3 separate regions of the Homo sapiens genome follow, and all the other regions are linked to region 2. The links are contacts of gene promoters, found by promoter capture Hi-C in blood cells and fetal thymus (Javierre and others, 2016). All regions are on one chromosome and are shown on one strand. Each heading gives the region's core, a stretch centred on a gene start or on the middle of the fragment in contact. The rest is flanking DNA. Distances are from core to core; before and after follow the strand shown.

Region 1 (3,238 bases), core at 730-3,229, 1.7 Mb before region 2:
GCCTTATTAGATTTTATCAGATAGAAAGATTAGTCCCTTCCCAATAGTTTTTTTAACAAATTCTTAGCAATATTCTTACATAGTCCTTTTATTAATATATTCTTATATATTTAAATAAATTTCAAAATCATTTCATCAATGAAATGACTGGTTAACTTAATTGTGATGATATTTCCTAGACATCAATTTGAAAAATTTCTATTTGGCAGCCCTCACATCTTTTAAAATAAGTCTTCGTTTACAGAATACTCTTGAGAAATTGTTTCATTTATCCCTGAAATTAAACAAATTTGTGAGGATAATAAGAGTCTGTGTGTGTGTCTGTGTGTGTCTATTTGCGTGTGTGTAGTATCATAAATCCTTTCAATCTGTGGGTTTTTAATTTGGGGTTTTTGTTCATTCCTGGGCAAGGAGTTTTTCTCTACTATAACTTGGATTATTTTATCTGTTTTAAATATTTGGTTTCTTCCTCAGAAACACCTATAGTTATCTTGTTGGATCACCTTTCTATGTCCTTTATCATTGTTGTCATCTTTGTCCTTTTCCTCTGAATTTTGAGAGCTAATCAAATTTATCCTTCACATTACTGATTTAATTTTCTGAAGTTCTAATTCTATTTGTACTGCTTCTAATGCAGATTTTAACTGTCATTTCATTTTAGGTTTTGTTTTGTTTTTTACTTTAAGTTCTTATTTCAGCCAACTCACTTTTCATTTATGCCATGTATATCTCAATGCATTTTCTCCTTATGATTTCCTCACTATTTCACAGTGTGAACCACTGCCCTGGGCCAAAAATGCTATTCTTGGTCTATAGACACATATGGCATTCTCATACATTGCTGGCTCAAGTACAAATGGTACAACCTCTGATAGTGAGGAATTTGGTAATATCTAACAAAATACCTATGCATTTACCCCTTGACCCAGCAATCCTCCTAGGAATTTACCTTAATAATACACTTCCACAAACAGTGAAAAAATATGCCCAAGGTTATCTATTGTGGAATTATTTTGAATAGCAAAATATTCAAAACAATTTACATGCCCATCTATAGAGGACCATTTGCATAAACACTGATAAGTCTACACAATGAAACACTATTCAGTCATTACAAAAAAGAAAAGAAAGAAGATCTCTGTGAACTGGTATGGAATATGGAGTGATTTTCTGGATATATTTTCAAGTAGTAAAATGAAGGCCGGGTGCGGTGGCTCACACCTGTAATCCCAGCACTTTGGGAGGCAGAGGAGGGTGGATCACCTGAGGTCGAGAGTTCAAGAGCAGCCTGACCAACATGGAGAAACCCTGTTTCTACTAAAAATACAAAATTAGCCGGACATGGTGGTGAATGCCTGTAATCCCAGCTACTAGGGAGGCTGAGGCAGGAGAATCGCTTGAACCCAGGAGGCGGAGGTTGCAGTGAGCTGAGATCGCACCATTGCACTCCAGCCTGGGCAACAAGAGTGAAACGCCATCTCAAAAAAAAAAAAAAGTAGTAAAATGAAGGTATGAGAGAATATATATATAGCATACCTTTGAATATGTCTATATGTATGTATGTCTATTTGTATCTTTGTGTAAGGATATATTACTTATATTTTCAAAAATATATAGGAAGGATAAATCATATATGGAGAAATGAATGAAAATGGGATGGAAGGAGTAGGAATGGAAGTGAAGTTTCTCTGAGTATTCTTTTTTAAATAGTGCAACTCCCATTAGGGATTCTTCATGGGTCCAACTAAACCTTCAGACTCACAAAACTACCATGGACTGTATTTGGCATCAGTACACTCAAAGGGATACAACAAACCACAGCTTGCCAGCAGGACAGCATGGAGCGTTTACCTTCCATGGGTGTTCTTACAGCAGATCAAAGAGCAGTCAGACTAGCTATCCTGCGGCTATTCTCATTAGTTTCCCAAGTGGTAGTTTACGTACAAGGGAACAAGTTTCACTTCAGACAACAGTGGAACTTAGCCTGATTTAGCAGCCTTATGCCCCATAGGAGCCAATAACTTTTGTAATAATTACACAGGCATAGTTTCTAGGATCCCTCACATGGGACATAGCCAATTATAACAGTTACCACACTAAAGGAAGCCCAAAATTATGGTATTTGCATTGAGCATTTAGAGTTTATTTATGAAGTCTACCAGTCCAGATGCTATTTACCAGTCAGAGGCACTTTTTTGCTATAAGTAATGTTGCCTGAAGTTGGAACAATTTGAGCATCAAAAAATGATGACAATAATAAAACATTAATAGAAAATCCATCAGCCCATTGTGTTATACCAAAATAAATAAGTTAATAAAACATAAGGAGAAAGATGTTAAAAAGGAAAGTTTTTCTTTACAGAAAAATATCAGGTAGTAAATGTAGAAGGCATTATTAAAAACGACCACTTTGAACTCTTGTAGTAATCAATTCAAGCATCTCAGCAGATGCTAAAAACCAGGAGTGAAAGATTATTAGGAAATTGTTCATTCACAAGGTCTCCAAGTATCACCCTACAGATTATTTTATTAATTATAAAGGGAAAAACAATCCTTTACAGGTAAGAGATCTGGCAGTTACCACCTAAGCCAAATGATCAAACTTAAGATAATCAATCATCAATAATCTAATATAATATGTCCTTTGATGTCATGTAATAAGTTCACAACTGGCCAGGCGTGGTGGCTCATGCCTGTAATCCCAGCACTTTGGGAGGCCGAGGCGGGCAGATCACCTGAGGTCAGGAGTTCAAGACCAGCCTGACCAACATGGAGAAACCCCGTCTCTACTAAAAATACAAAATTAGCTGGGTGTAGTGGTGCATGCCTATAATCCCAGCTACTCAGGAGGCTGAGGCAGGAGAATCACTGGAACCCGGGAGGCAGAGGTTGCGGTGAGCTGAGATCGCGCCATCGCACTCCAGCCTGGGCAACAAAAGTGAAACTCCGTCTCAAAAAAAAAAAAAAAGTTCACAACCTTACTTATGCAGTATTCTTACCAAAAAATGCTTAACTTGAATCCAATCATGAGAGAACAATCCAACAAATTCAGATACAGGCTGTTTTACAAGACAACTGGCCTGGATCCTTCAATAAAAGTTAATGTGAAAAAAACTAAAAAGTATTGGGACTGTGCAAGATTAAGAGAATAAAGAGGCATGATCAAAGACTATTTGTAAAACTTGGCTGGATTCTGGTTTGGAAAATTAGAAAGCCATTGTGACAATGGAGGAAATTT
Region 2 (3,515 bases), core at 962-3,461:
TAATTTAAAAGGTTTGCTTATTTTAGTCCCCGAAGCAGAGAGGATCTACTTCTAACCATCATACATGGTACAACTTCTGAGGGATGTGTATTGCAGAGAATTTCTATATGACTAAATATTACACTGGGAACTGGGAGATCTAAGTACAGATCAGGAGAAAAAGTCCTCAGCTTTGTGCTGATTGGCAGACCTCAAACCACTCAAAGCTTGTGACCAGGGAGTGCCAAGAGCTGATTAAATTAGGCTTATCGCTGTGGCAAGGGGGCTGCATGTGTTAGTTTAATTAATCAGAGCCCACCTCTCCAGTAAAGATGGTTACAATCTCACCTCAAGTCCAGAGCTGCTACCCCATGGTGGGGGAGAGGGGTGGGATGGCTTTTGGGAGAGCAACCACCACATTCTTCCATCTGTAAGTGAGGGAGTCTCTTTCCAGATCCAAACCAACTGTGATCCTATGAGCAGAGCACTTACTTATTTTTGCAATCGTCTGTCTCTCTTTTTTTCACCTGCACTTTCTTTTCTGTTTTACTTTATGATTGTCCTTTTCTACCTCTGAGCATAGGTCCCTGTAGAAGACAACAAACCCCAAAATGAAGTCGACAAGGCTTGGTATAGCTCAGTCTTGGGCTGGGGAAAAGAAGTGAAGCTGACAAGGTGACTTGAGAGGGTCCCTGTGCACTTCAGGGCAGAATGGAGTGACGCCTTATTCATTAGACATGAGCTGGACATGCCAACTTGTGGTGAGTAACTCTTGGACCCTTAAAGGAGGCAATGTTTCTCAAGTTCTGAAGCCCCCGTCTCTAGAGAATGCACAAGCTCTTTGAGAAAGGAGGAAAACCGTGTGCAATTACACTTGTCCTCTGATCTGCATTTAAAAAAAAAAAAAAGGTTTAGTACCCAAATCCTTAGCAGGCAAATCTCTCAGCCTTTTGAGGGAGTGGTCAAGGGTTTGCACGAAACGTTTCTGAAGAGAAAATAGGCTGTGAGTCTCCACATCACCCCCTCCACTTTGGTATTAATAAATACTTTTTTTAAAAAAAATACTGCACTGAGAAATTTACCAGACGATTTCTGGAAACTGACTTATGAACTAATTGGGCACTTTTGCTGTGCGGAGGAACAAAGACACTATTGGTCTTCAACTGAGGCATATACCTGTCTGATGGCGCTGGCTCATTCCGCACATGCTCAGTTGAACAGAAATCTTCATATTGAATGCAACCTAGCACAGCGGCAACACCCAGAACCTCACTCCCTGGCTGCTCCTGTGCCTGCACTCCCTCTAGTTGCATTCTGTTCCTGACAAGTCTAACATTTATAGGGAGTATAGAGAGCAGAGTAGGTCCTGGGAGTTTGAGGACAATATACAAATGAGCTTAAAGTCACGGTTTGTCCCTGCCTTCCTAGCTTCTCTCTAGGTTGGTCTCTAGTGAGGGTAGGCGCTGGATAGATATTTGTTGAGTTTGGGGCAGAACGTGGGAGAAGCTGTCTCTATAGATGACCGTTTGCTGTCGCACACCTTCCTAGGCAGTTTTTGTTTAGTCCTTTTCTTGGACGACCTCCCCTTACCCCCAGCCCTCATCTTCATTAAGGAATGACAGGGTAGCACTAAAAGCATCCGCTGCCAAGCACGGATTCAGTGACAACCTCTCTCCACCTCTCTTTTAGCTTTCTCATTCATTAGCACCCTTTCCCTGCCTCTTTTCCCAGCAAAAAACTGGGAAAGGCTCCCTGCGATTACAAAAGAAGGAAAGGGGAGCGGCCAGAGTTTCGTGCCTCTTGCCGGACAACGAGCGTGCAGCCGTGGACCTTTTGTCTCCAGCCCCTTTCGCGGCTTGGTCGCGGCTAGGCGCGGAGGCGACGACCCCAACCAGCCCCGCCTCGGCAGCTGCAGCCGGCGCGCCCCACTCAACCCCCCGCGCCCTCTAGAATCCCGGTGCCCGCCCGTTCGCCGTGACGCGGCCGGCGCCCCGCGCATGCGCCGCTCGGCCCGCTCCCCTTTCCCTGGGCCACCGCCTCCCGACCGGTTGGAGTGGGCGGAGCCTGTGGTTCTGGAAGCCGCGCCGCCGACGGGGGAGGAGGGCGTGTCTGCGCGAGGCGGGTGAGCGGGGCTGGCGAGCCGGTCGGCTGCTGAGGCGTAGGGGCGGAGCAGAAGGCGGCGGCCGCGGCTCCCGCCCGCACAGAGCGCCGGTCCCGCGAAGCCCCCTCCCACTCCCGGGCGGGCGGTGGCGGCTGCGGGAGGAGGAGAAAGAGGAGGGAGCGTCTCTGCCGCCGCCTCCTGGTCCCCAGCGCCGATCCGCCGCCGCCGCCACCTCCCTCCGCGGCGATCCTCGCTCCATGGTCCTGCCGCGGCCCCCTCTGTAGCCCGAGCTGCTCCGCGACGCGACGGAGCCGGCCTCGGACAGAGGGAGCGGTCGCGGCCTCGCGGCCCGCGCGGGCTGACGAGCGGAGAGCGCGACGCCGCGCGGTCCCCGAGGATCCGCACGCCGGGCAGCGCGGCCCGAGCAGCGCGAGAAGCAGCGGGCGGGCGGGCGGCGCCGGGCCCGGGCCGCCCTCGCTCCCGCGCCCCGGCCCCGCCGCCCGCGCCGGGGCGGTCGCCTGCAGAGGAAGGCGCCGCAGTCTCTGGGCCTCGCGGCCCCACTCGAGCGTCCTCGGCACCGAGGGCTCGCGGGTCCTGAGGGGAGGAGGCGATCCCGGGGCTGGGCACTGAGCTCTTGGGCGCCCCCACCCCCGTTTTCGAAGCCCTCCACGCTGCGGCCGCTATCCCCTCCGGACCATGGCCGACGACGACGTGCTGTTCGAGGATGTGTACGAGCTGTGCGAGGTGATCGGAAAGTGAGTCTCCACGCGAGGGAGCGGGAGTGTGGAAAAATGCATTTCAGTGATGCCCCGGTCTTCCCGCACCCGCTCGGGGCCTGCCCCCTGCCCTCCCTCCTTCCCCTCTTCCCCTCTCGTCCTTCTCATCCTGGAGTATTTATAGACGTGTACCTGGAGCTCCTGCCAGGCGGGGGCCTGGGGGTTCTCAGCGGTCCATTGAGGCCACCGAGCCGAGGTTGGCCACCCCGTAAGGCGTGGGGCCGGCTGCCTGCATTTTATCTGACGGTTGCACAGGGACGTGGCACAGCCGATTTTATAGTTGCTTCAGTTGGGGTTATTGTTACCTTGCATGTACCATAGACCATTTTTGAAACAGAGCAGCTTGCATTTCCTTTGCTTGTGTGGTGAGAGAGTCCAGGGTTTTAATTGTGGGGTGTGTGTCTATTGTGCGGGATATTAGACAGATGCCTTTGTGTACACCCCATGCTCGGATTGGAGGGGGTCATTTAAGACGGGGTGCTTTCAGTTTCAGCAAATTCCCTCCTGGTGTACACGAACGTGGAAAGAGTTGGGGGCATTCGAATTTTTAATGCCTTGTTATGCAATGACTGTTCAATCAGTGCTCGAGACTCCCCTCGACTGTTGTTGGGATGGTGGTTAGCGTGGTAGAGCCGTCTGCTTTGAGTCACCGGGCTGGT
Region 3 (3,519 bases), core at 973-3,472, 1.7 Mb before region 2:
ATATACACACAAACTTGCCCTTGATATATAAAACCATTCCTATCTATCTATCTATCTATCTATCTATCTATCTATCTATCTATCTAATCTATACCTATGCCTATCTGTATTTTGTACTTCCTTTCAGATACATAATTCTCTGCTTTAGGAAAGGCCAAATCTTCTAATCCCCTTGATAGGCTAAAAAAGATAGGGCTGTCTCAAGTAATAAACAGATGAAAGCTAACAATTAACTTCAATTTGCCCTGAATTCAACAGACTGGTTGTCTAGACAGTCCTAATTTATTTGATTATTGTTCCGCATTCATCTTCACTTTAGATAAAAGGATCTCACCCAAGTTAGGGAATGCAATTACCCCTTAATTCATTATTCGCCCCAATCTTTCATTGAAACTTAAAATGCACCAGGGACACTCCATATTGCTGTCCTTGGACTCTGCACACTAGGATGGGCTGTAGTTCCCTAAATGTTTTACGGAACATGAGTCCTCAAGAAAGATGCTCTGGGGAGAAGTATCAATGTTCATGGAAGTTGAGACACCATATACTGTTTCTCCTTCTGGGAAATGCCTGGTGCACACTGGCATATGGTCCTGAGAAGTCCTGCAGCAAAAAGACCCATTTAACTCAGCATTTATCCACCCTCTGCTTTTTAAAAAAATGTATACCTGAAAACACACTTTAGGAAAGCTTGTTTAATCTCTCATAAGATTGATTGTTCAAATAGCATAATAAACTCCCAAAGGCAAGGTCCTAGGTGAACAATGCCCAGAGCACAAGCTGAGCATGTTGGAGCAAGGTTTTAGTGTAGCTATGGTGTATACCTGCCTAGTTCTTTCTCTTTATTCCCGAAAGTGACATCTTTCTTCAACTTTGATATGCATCATCACCTAGGAATTGCACAGAGTACACTGCATGATACATTGTTAATTCTCTATTATTCAGTGAAGTGGTCTCTGGCCAAAAGAATTCTTACATAACTGCACATTTGGACTCTTGGACTGAACACTCCAAGGGCAATAAAAAGTATAGTCAAATATCAACTCATATTGCCTCATTTTTGAGGCAATCAGATTTCATCAGATTTTCGAAGAGGCATTTTATTTTTGAGGCAATATGCCCAAAGCAGAGAAGCGAGAGCAAACCCCACAAATTTTACTCAAGGCATACAGTGATGCACAATTGACAAATATTTACTGAATGAATGAACAGATACATACAAGCAAGAAAATGGTCTTCAACTTAGGCCACAGCTCCAAGCTAACTCATTTAATCTGGAAACGGTCACCTTAAAGGTCATCTTCATTACATTTCAGAATTTATCCAAAATCTATGACACTTCTGTCGAGTATGACTTCCTCCATGAAATCCTTTCCTTGTCACTTCCTCCAGGTGGAATTAACTCCTCCCTCCTCTGTGCTGACATTGGACCTCTGAACCAACTTTGAAGAGCATTTCAGGCTCATCTCTGTAACCCCTGTGACACAGAGGTTACACAGATTCTATGCCTCACACAAGTCACTGAATAGACGATGGGCTAATGATACTTTAAATAAACAATCTTTGAAAACTACTAAAAGAAATCTCAACCACCACAGCCTTCCATTTCCTTCACCAATGTTTTCTCCCAAATTCTTTCTTTTCAAAACATGTCAATTTCACTTCTCTAGTTATCATAGAGCTAATATAGCAAATGTAGGTGCCTTCGTGTCCAGCCTGAATGTTTTGACTCTTCATCATGGTCTATTTAAAAATTCATTACTAGTAACTGTCTAATGATATAATGAATCCTCTGAAATATTTTTCACCACTTTCGTGAAGTCTCAGTATCAGCTAAAAATAATTACACTATTAGGACAGTGACGCAGAAGAGGTTTCCAGAACATTGGCCTGGTGCAGAGGAGAAAAACATCTATGCGTAAAAATACGCATTTTTTGGTGAAACGTCCAATAGCTTTCATCAGATTTTCCAAGAGACATTTGGTCCAAAAGGTCAAGAATCACTGATCTAAACTATCCCAACAATCTCTACATATCCTAAATGCACCAGGAATGGCCTTTCCAACAAGGAAATAGATTTGTCATATGAAAGTCATTTTATTTAATAGGGTGTCCCATATTTTTAAATTTAAATGTTCAGAAAGCAATAACATTCCTTGTGATATCTTATAATATATAAATTACTGTTAAGCAGTAGTCACTATGCTTTAGAGCATCAACGTTCAAAGTAAAGCAATAATAAGGTTTACTGCAGATCTATGGATGAGCTGACAAAGCAGGTCCAGTGAGGTGAGGTACAGAAAGAGCACTGTCCTGGAAGTCAGTATTTTACGCATCCAAGGACAAGTTAAACAGCTAAGAATTTTGTGGCATTTGGTAATTCCCTGGACCCCTCTGAGCCTCTGTTTCAGTCCCTTTGGGCTCTTACAGGCCACCATTCTATAACCCTTGGACATGGTTAATATATAATTACTTCAACTCTTAAATCTTATCATCTGTTTTTTATGTTCTTAACACTCTTAGTCAATCAATTAAATATTGTTATTGAGTGTGCTTTGTTTACTTTTGCCTAGCAACAACTAGAAAAGGGTTTTAAACAAAGTCTCAGAGAAGCCATGGGGAAAGTGTGAATGAGCACCTGTGGAGAGACCCAGGCCCTGATTCAAGTTTGTGAAGAATGTCAGTATGACAGATAATGCAAACTCTTCCCAGAATAAAGCATAGAAGAAAAAAACGTTGAGGAGGGTCCAAGAAAGAAAGCTAAAGAGACGGATCTTCATGAAATTGACTAATTACTAAAAATCCATACCAGAAGATATATCACATATAACTTAATCCAACTTCTTGGATGACAAAACCATAGTTCAAAGACTTTAAATTTCCCTAATACACAATGACAGATGGCAACATAACAAGAAATAGATTGTTTGAAGGAAAATACAAATTGCTGGTAAAAATATAAAATATTTGTCATGATAAAGGAGGAGAAACAGTCCCAACAATCAATTTGTCTCAAATGCTCACAACATTTAGAAAATGTTTTGATTCAATTTTTGAAGTTCTAATTACAATGAAAAAAAAAACCCTATCATTATGAAATCTATACATCTCCTACATACAAGTATATTCCTTAACAACTATTTATCGGGTGTCTACACTTTCTAAATCACAGGGCTGGGCACCCTATATGTAATATAAAACTAGAATACAACCTTAGTCTTTCTGAGTACACTTGAATGCAAATACTGCAAGATTTTTCATAGGTTAAAATATTTCTATGCCATAACTGCACAAAGATTGTGACCCAATATTCACCAATAATGGTGTTCCATGTTTCTTTTTCTCCATTATTGGTCTCTGTAATGTATGCAATTATGCTATACCTAGATCTATTGTTAAATACATTTTTCACAATAGCTGAGGATTATGTAACAATTCAAATCAATTAGTATTGACTAAATGCTAAAATTTCCCATTTAATGCCAGATAAATCCAAAAGCTCCTTCAACCATGAAGATT

The links. The method cuts DNA at HindIII sites, captures the fragments that hold promoters and counts their contacts. A CHiCAGO score of 5 or more calls a contact.
Region 1: a contact is called between a fragment that was not itself captured here and the fragment with the promoter of CASK in region 2, in 1 of 17 cell types (fetal thymus). The highest score is 5.0, in fetal thymus.
Region 3: a contact is called between a fragment that was not itself captured here and the fragment with the promoter of CASK in region 2, in 1 of 17 cell types (monocytes). The highest score is 6.4, in monocytes.

What each region holds. Positions count from the first base shown.
Region 1 is chrX:43,645,679-43,648,916 of GRCh38, reverse strand. No RefSeq gene overlaps it. Among named protein-coding and RNA genes, the nearest start is that of MAOA, 9.0 kb to the left of the region's middle. The HindIII fragment of the contact is 9,080 bases long and covers 1-3,238 here.
Region 2 is chrX:41,922,250-41,925,764 of GRCh38, reverse strand. It overlaps CASK (calcium/calmodulin dependent serine protein kinase), which reads left to right and starts at 2,211. Exons shown (of 27, transcript NM_001367721.1): 1 at 2,211-2,835. The coding sequence starts at 2,777. RefSeq lists silencers at 1,857-2,436, 2,707-2,756. The HindIII fragment of the contact is 8,208 bases long and covers 209-3,515 here.
Region 3 is chrX:43,662,378-43,665,896 of GRCh38, reverse strand. The region is part of intron 1 of MAOA (monoamine oxidase A); the gene reads right to left. Among named protein-coding and RNA genes, the nearest start is that of MAOA, 7.8 kb to the right of the region's middle. The HindIII fragment of the contact is 3,060 bases long and covers 693-3,519 here.